2 separate regions of the Homo sapiens genome follow, and region 2 is linked to region 1. The links are contacts of gene promoters, found by promoter capture Hi-C in blood cells and fetal thymus (Javierre and others, 2016). All regions are on one chromosome and are shown on one strand. The core of a region is centred on a gene start or on the middle of the fragment in contact, and the rest is flanking DNA. Distances in the headings are between cores, read along the strand shown.

Region 1 (3,267 bases), core at 627-3,126:
AGGCAGCCGCTAAAGGTGAATTTGCATCTAAGCTTGTCCTGAACTTACTTATCTTTGCCCCTTTCCTTCAGTTTCTTCATATCCACCATACCACCTGTCTTCATCTGAAAGGGATCATCCTGCAGAAAGCAAACACAGTTAAGAGGAAGCATCTAAATACATGGTAGTGGAATTTTTTTTTTTGTGAAGCACGCTCACTCACTGAAGAGCACTGCAGGGAGGGCTGCCATAACTACTCAGGGAAGACCCCATAACTTACCACTAGAGTGGTCTCCTCTTGTACCTTCTCTCCCACCAGCAAGGCCACAGCACTGAGCAAAACCAAAAAAAAAAGAGAGGGGGAGAGAGAGAAATGGCATAATTCAGAGATAAGGAGGAACCCTCTCAGGTATGCGGATTGCAACATTAGTGCAAGGGTGGGATTTGAGGGGTGGGTAGGCAAGCCGGCTGGAAAAGCCTATAAGCATAAGACAGGGCTCAACGAGCACCGCAGATGCTGGAAGAAGGGTGCGCTGGTGGTGAAGTGGTACACTTTGCCACTTTCCTGTAAAGCCATTTGGCATTATCTTGGCCTGGAAATCTCATTTCTAAGATATTCTCATCATGGAAAGTGCAGCTAAAGATAAATTTAAGAGAATATCCACTGCAGCCTTATTTGATAGTAAAAATTTACAAAATCACCTACATGTCCCAAAATAGGGGATTTGTTAACAAATTACAATACACACATCTGGTGGAATATTATGCAGCCATTAAGGCTTTCTGAAAAATATTCCACAATATGGGTGAATGCCCACAATGTCATAATGAGTTGAAAAGAACAGGGAATAAAAGTACATAGAAAGTTGTTCACAATCTGAGAGAGAGAGACGAAAAAAAACAGATTGGAAAGAGTATTCAATATTAATACCAGTGCATTCTTGGGTGGCTCTGCAAGGAAAAAAAATGTTAACACTGATCATTTCCGGATGGGAGAATTATGGGTGCTTTTTATCGTCTTGACTATACTTTTCTAAATTATACAAACTCTTAACGATCGATATGCATTTCACAATTAATTGGTTTTAATAAAAAACGCGAGTTAGTGATCTGTTTCTGTATCTCTGGAGCACACCCCGAGACGACACAGCTCAGGGCATGTCCTGGTTAAACATTTGCAAAGAACGCTGTTCTCCAAGTTGGGCAGTGGAAGGTGTACAGTGTGTCAAGAGAAAAATCTACGTCTGAGGAGATATTTGTGACAGCGACCCGGACGCGGATGTGTCTGTCGTCCCCGCCGCCTCCTCCTCCTCCCCGCGTGGTACCCACCTCACCCCGTTGGGCCTCTTCCTCAAGTTCTGTACCTCTCTGGTCTCTTCCAGTTTTAATCTTTAAAAAGAAGAAGAAGCAGCAATGCATAAGCTGAGTGATTCCCCGCGGAATCCAAAGCTAACAGAGCCAATAAGGCACCTTCGAGGGCATCCCAGCCCAGCTACTGAGCCACCAGCACAGTGGTCCAGAGGACGACCTTGTGCCTAGACCCACCGGGAGTCAGAGCCACTGCGCATCCCGGAGGCATCTCTCTCAACCGTTCGAGCTTGGGGCGGTGGCCTCACCCCTTGAGCCTCAATTTCTGCGTCCGCAGAAGGAACCACCACCCGAGCTCACAGTTAACAATGTCAGCGAAGCGCCGAGCCGGTGGTGAGTCCCCCAAACAAGTCTATCTTTACCAAGCCTATGGGAGCCCCGCCCCAAACGCACCGAACCTCCTCTGAGTCCTGCTCATCTTCCTCTGACTCCGAGTCGCCCCGGCGGCGACGGAAAATCTTCCGGACGACCGGCATGGTGACAACGGCCGAGTTGTACAGCCGCCGCGCCTCTGCGCAGCGGCCCAGGCTGCTTCCGGCGCGCGGCAGAGCGGTCAGAGCGCCTGCCCCGTCTGGCCCCGCCCCCGGCACGCACAGTCCGCGTGGCCACGCCCCCTCTCCTGGCGTCAGCCTCTTCCGATTGGACGGCAGAGGGAAGGAGGTGGGGCGTCGCCAGACGGCCCCACAACCCTGCGCGTCGCCTCAGAGGGGGCGCGCTTGACTGACAGGCGGCGGCGGCGCAGTTGCGAGTGCAGGTGAGTTCCGGGCCGCCACCGGCTGCTTCTGTGGGCCGGGCCTCTGAGCATTGGCGACCCCAGCCCGGCTCCGGGCTGACAGGGCCTGGCTTCGCCAGGTACGCCAGACGCAGCGGCCCGGTGAGCGGAGCCCGGGACCCCCCCGGCCGCCGCCGCCCCTCTCCCCTCCTCCGGTCGGCGCCCAGGGGGGCCTCTGGGCCCCAGCACCACCCCACTCTGAGCTCCCTGGGGGCTCGTGGCTTCTCCAGAACCGGGGCCGCCCCCCTCTCATTTCTGCCGGGGCCTGACCTAGCGTTGAAAGCATCCGCGTGGCGTCTCGCGTCTCGGGCGCTGACTTTTCTTTCCTCGGGCTCTGAGCCCTGACGTGCGTTTTTTTCTTTCGGAACAAAAGATGACCACTTCTCTGCGGTGCTGACTTAGAGTCCCAGCGCCGACTGCCTCACAAATAATGGCCCCCAGCTTCTCCGCGAGGAGAGGCGCGTCTGATGTTTTGAAGCCACGCAAGAGGGTTTGAGCCGGGGGACTCCTCCTCGGTGCTTGCCGGCCACCCCCCTGGACCTTCACGGGTCTGGTTTTCCTCCTTCGGCAGGTCTGTCGCTCTACCCTCTGCCCCTTCCACCCCGAAGATGCTGTGAGGATAAAGTTTATTTGAAAAACTGGTATCAGCAAACGCTTAGGAAATACCTAAATGCATAAATAATGGCTTCTAGGACTTTTAAGAACCCCTTAAGTAACAGTAGTTTTCCTTTTCTCAGTGTCATCCCTTACTTTGAGAACTACCTCTTATTAAGCAGTTACTATGTGGCAGGCCCTGGGCAAAGCATCATCTCATTGAATTCTCCCAGCAATCCTTTGAGGTAGATTGTTTTTCGTTTTACAAATGAGAATGCGGAGTCTCCGAGGGGCAGTGCACGCCTCAAGTTACCCAGCTAGGAGGTGGAACAGGAATTGGTTGCAGGTCAGTCTCTGCCGCACGGTTTGCACAGGGCCTGGCACGGTAGGAGTGCAGTAGATGTTTGCTGCTGCTGCAGCTGCTGTTACATCTCATTGGCTAGGGGGAGGGGCCGATGGGGGCTGTCTGGGGTTCCCCTTTCTGGAAGACCATTCCGAAGCAGGGCAGCATTTCTAGAATGCCTTACGTTTTCTCTGGAACAGTCTCCACTGAG
Region 2 (3,333 bases), core at 558-3,057, 340 kb after region 1:
TTTAAAAATTTTTGTAGAGATGAGGTCTCCCCTGTCAGGCTGGTCTTGAACTCCTAAGCTCAAGTAATCCTTCCACCTCAGCCTCTCAAAGTGCTGGGATTACCAGCATGAGCCACTGCACCCAGCCTGAGCACCTGGGTTTCTAAAGGGCTTTAACTACTACTGCTGTCATCCAGCCAGGCCCTGGTTCCCGTGCTGGCTCTCCCTCCTCCCAGGCAGGATGCTCAGCACAGTCTGGTCAACTGTTAGCCCCCCACTGTGGGCCCCTCACTGCTGTCCACTCTGAGTTGGTCCTCAAGGTTGGGACATTCTGCTCCCAGGTCTACACCAGATCCCTCCAACTGGGCCCACCTCCTCTGCAGAATGAGCTCCCCAAGCCAGCAAGTCCATCCCCATCTGAAGACTTCCTGGGGCCTGGGGCTCAGCCTGGGCAGGGGCTTCAGGGGAAAGCAGGAGTGGATGGAGTATGCTTAGAGGCAGGAGAGATATTTGGGAGCTGGAAGGCACTCGGCCCTGCTCAGGGTTCCTCTGAGCTTTCTGGACCCTCCGAGGTTAGAACACTGTGGAAAGAAGGGAGAAAGAGACCCCACTCCTGCCTCATCCCTGCTAGCCCCGGGGAGGGCTGCCTCATCCTCCCCGCTCTCTCCCCTACCCCAGGGCCCCAGCACCGGGTGTCATTCTTTCCTCCGTCCTTCGCTCATTCACAGAGATTTGCTGGGTAACACCTCAGGCGGCCTTCTGGGTTATGGAGATGCCTCTGCCCTCTGGGAGGGTGTTCTCCCATGGAAGAGACAAACAGGATGCAGAAAACATAGGTGACGTTTGTGATGGATGTGAAGGAGAGAAACTAAAGCCGAAAAGGATAGGAGAGTTCTCAAGATATGATGATATGTTGGATGAGGTGGACCGGGAAGGCCATGCTGGACCTACCACCTGAACCACACCCCCCTACGCGAATCCACTGGCCTCTGTCCATTCAGGTGGAGCCTGTCACCCCAGCCTCGGCTCAGAGAAACAGCTCTGAGCAGCTCTGACCTGTCACTCCAGCAGCTCTGACCCATCACTCTCTGCTGAAGTCCTTTCATGGGCGCTGGTGGGCAGGGGCCCAGCTCCTCGGCGAGGGGCCTCTCCTGGCCTGCCCCGTGGGCCCTGCCCTTCTCCCAGGTCCCCTGTGCCTGCAGCCGTGCGCAAGCCCGCAAGCCGGGGAACTCTCCCTCGGGCATGCAGGCCTCCCCGCCTCTCCAGGTTGCCTGGGCCAGAACGCTTCTCCATCCACCTCCCTTCCTGACCCTGGGTTTGGAGGTCTCCTGCCCCCAGGCCGAGAGTAGGTGCTCCCACCGCTACCTGCCGCATCCCGCACAGCCCCCTGCCCGCCCTGCGAGGGCTGGGGCACTCCTGTCCCGTGGGCCGCCGTGTCCCCGGCACCCCATGAATCCGTGTCGAATGAATGAATGTCTCCGGGCCGGGACCTGGCCTCATTCACATCCGATCTTCCGGGCCCTCCCCGCCGCGGCGGGGGCCGGAGCGCCAGGGCTGGATTCGGGGAGGGGGTGGCGGGGGTGGCTGCCCCGCCCTGGGGCCGCGTTGAGCCGAGGGGACGCCCCTCCGGCTGGCTGGCGAGGCCGGGGTCCAGCTGGCGGAGGCCGCGGCCAGGCGGGTGCGGGGCGGGAGGTGGCGCCGGGCGCTGAGTGGCGGCTCCGGGTCCACCCCTGGCGCGCGGGTGCGGGCGGGAGGGGGGAGGCGGGAGGCGGGGAGCGCAGGGGCGGCGGCAGGCGGGAGGCAGCAGCGAGCATGTGCCGCGGAGCCCAGTAACCAGGGACGACCGCGGCCACACCGCGCCGGCGCCGGCGCCCAGCCCAGGCAGCCCCGCGCCGCGGCGCCCGGACCGCCCGGGCCTGCCCAGCGGCCGCCCCACGCCCCGGGCGCCCCGGCGCCGACAGCCGCGCAGCGCAGCGCGGGCGCCGCAGACAAAGGCGCGGCCCCGGCCCGGCCCGCCCGGCCCAGCCGCTCCTGCTGGGCGCCCCAACCGGGTCCGGCCCGGGGGGGCGGGGGCCGCGGCCGCCGAGGATGGGGAAATCCAACAGCAAGTTGAAGCCCGAAGTTGTGGAGGAGCTGACCAGGAAGACCTACTGTGAGTGCTCCCAGCCCCCAGCCCGCGCCCCGCGGTCACCCCCACACCCACCGCCCCCGCCCCCGCCCCCCGGACCCGCGCGCTACCCGCTCCGCGCTGCCGCCTCCGCTCCGTCCTCCCCGCCCGGCCTCCAATGTGGACCCCTCGGAGGTTCCCGGGCCGCGCCCCTGCCCCCCGCCCGGCCCCATTGTTCTGGCACCCCCAGCCCGGGGAGTGCGCGCCGGTCGGCGTGCGCGGCGCCACCCCTAGGTCCGGAGGGGCAGCCCCAGCCCCCTGGCGGCCCCCTCTCCGCAGAGCTGTCCCAACGGGCAGGGGCTGTTGCCAGGGTGGGGCGGTGGTCCCGGGAGGGGGCGCCCGGCTGCGCGGAGCCGACTGGCACGAGCGCGCGGGGCTGGTGATTCATGCATCACGATGCCGCCGCCGCCGCTGCTGCGAGATTGGCCTGTCGCCCCCTCCCTGGCCCCGTTCGTGTGGGGGGGGGGGTGGCGAGACTTGGCACAGCGCTCGTCGTGCGGTGACGGCGGTGAAGGGTCCCCGGCACCCTGTGGGTTGCAGCACTTACAGGCTGGATTCTCCCTGGCCCCATCTCTGTCTGCCACACCGGGAAGTGGGTTTCTACAGCCCGGGTCATCTGGGCCGCGTGTGATCATTAGCTGTCGCGGGCTGCCCGGAGGAGGATGGCCTGTCCTTTCTGGGCGTCTCCAGATCAGCCTCAGTGTGTCTCCCTCCACTTGCCTAACTTCACAACTCTGCAGTCCCCTTGCAGTCCTAGTTTCTCCATACCAGGCTTCCCCCTTCCCTGCAGCCTCTCCGGAGGTGCCCTGGCATACCAGGGGTTAATGGTAATGGGTCCAGACCACCCAGGGGATTGCCAGAGGGAAGGCTTCAGCATCGGGGTCTGGAAGGACCTCTGCCTGGGTGTTTGACTTGGAAGGGGACAGTGGTTCTGGGCTTGGGTTGGAATTCAGAACCCATCCCCGGGCAGCTGCGTGGGCCCAGGCCCTCTGCACCACCCCTGGAGGCAGCAGCTTGACCGCCAGCCCCATGTGTTGATGGAGGCTGGGGAGGCAGCTCCTGGTGGTGCATTGCACAACCTCTGCTCCCCGCTTCCCCCCACTCCATCGGCCTTCTGGGCACGTCTGCAGGTCTGTCCAAGCCCACGCTTCAGCTCCATGCCCCTCACCCCTCATGCTTGGAACAAA

Evidence for each region. The method cuts DNA at HindIII sites, captures the fragments that hold promoters and counts their contacts. A CHiCAGO score of 5 or more calls a contact.
Region 2: the fragment with the promoter of NCS1 here is called in contact with the fragment with the promoter of C9orf78 in region 1 in 1 of 17 cell types (M1 macrophages); the score reaches 5.4 in M1 macrophages.

The regions. Positions count from the first base shown.
Region 1 is chr9:129,833,399-129,836,665 of GRCh38, forward strand. C9orf78 (chromosome 9 open reading frame 78) reads right to left here and starts at 1,877. Exons shown (of 9, transcript NM_016520.3): 1 at 1,741-1,877; 2 at 1,309-1,368; 3 at 260-311; 4 at 49-119. The coding sequence starts at 1,823. It overlaps USP20 (ubiquitin specific peptidase 20), which reads left to right and starts at 2,060. Exons shown (of 26, transcript NM_001110303.4): 1 at 2,060-2,101. RefSeq lists silencers at 1,809-2,158, 2,189-2,338 and an enhancer at 2,310-2,810. The HindIII fragment of the contact is 4,419 bases long and covers 31-3,267 here.
Region 2 is chr9:130,170,597-130,173,929 of GRCh38, forward strand. It overlaps NCS1 (neuronal calcium sensor 1), which reads left to right and starts at 1,808. Exons shown (of 8, transcript NM_014286.4): 1 at 1,808-2,131. The coding sequence starts at 2,068. RefSeq lists enhancers at 922-1,710, 3,172-3,333 and a silencer at 1,785-1,874. The HindIII fragment of the contact is 9,600 bases long and covers 1-3,333 here.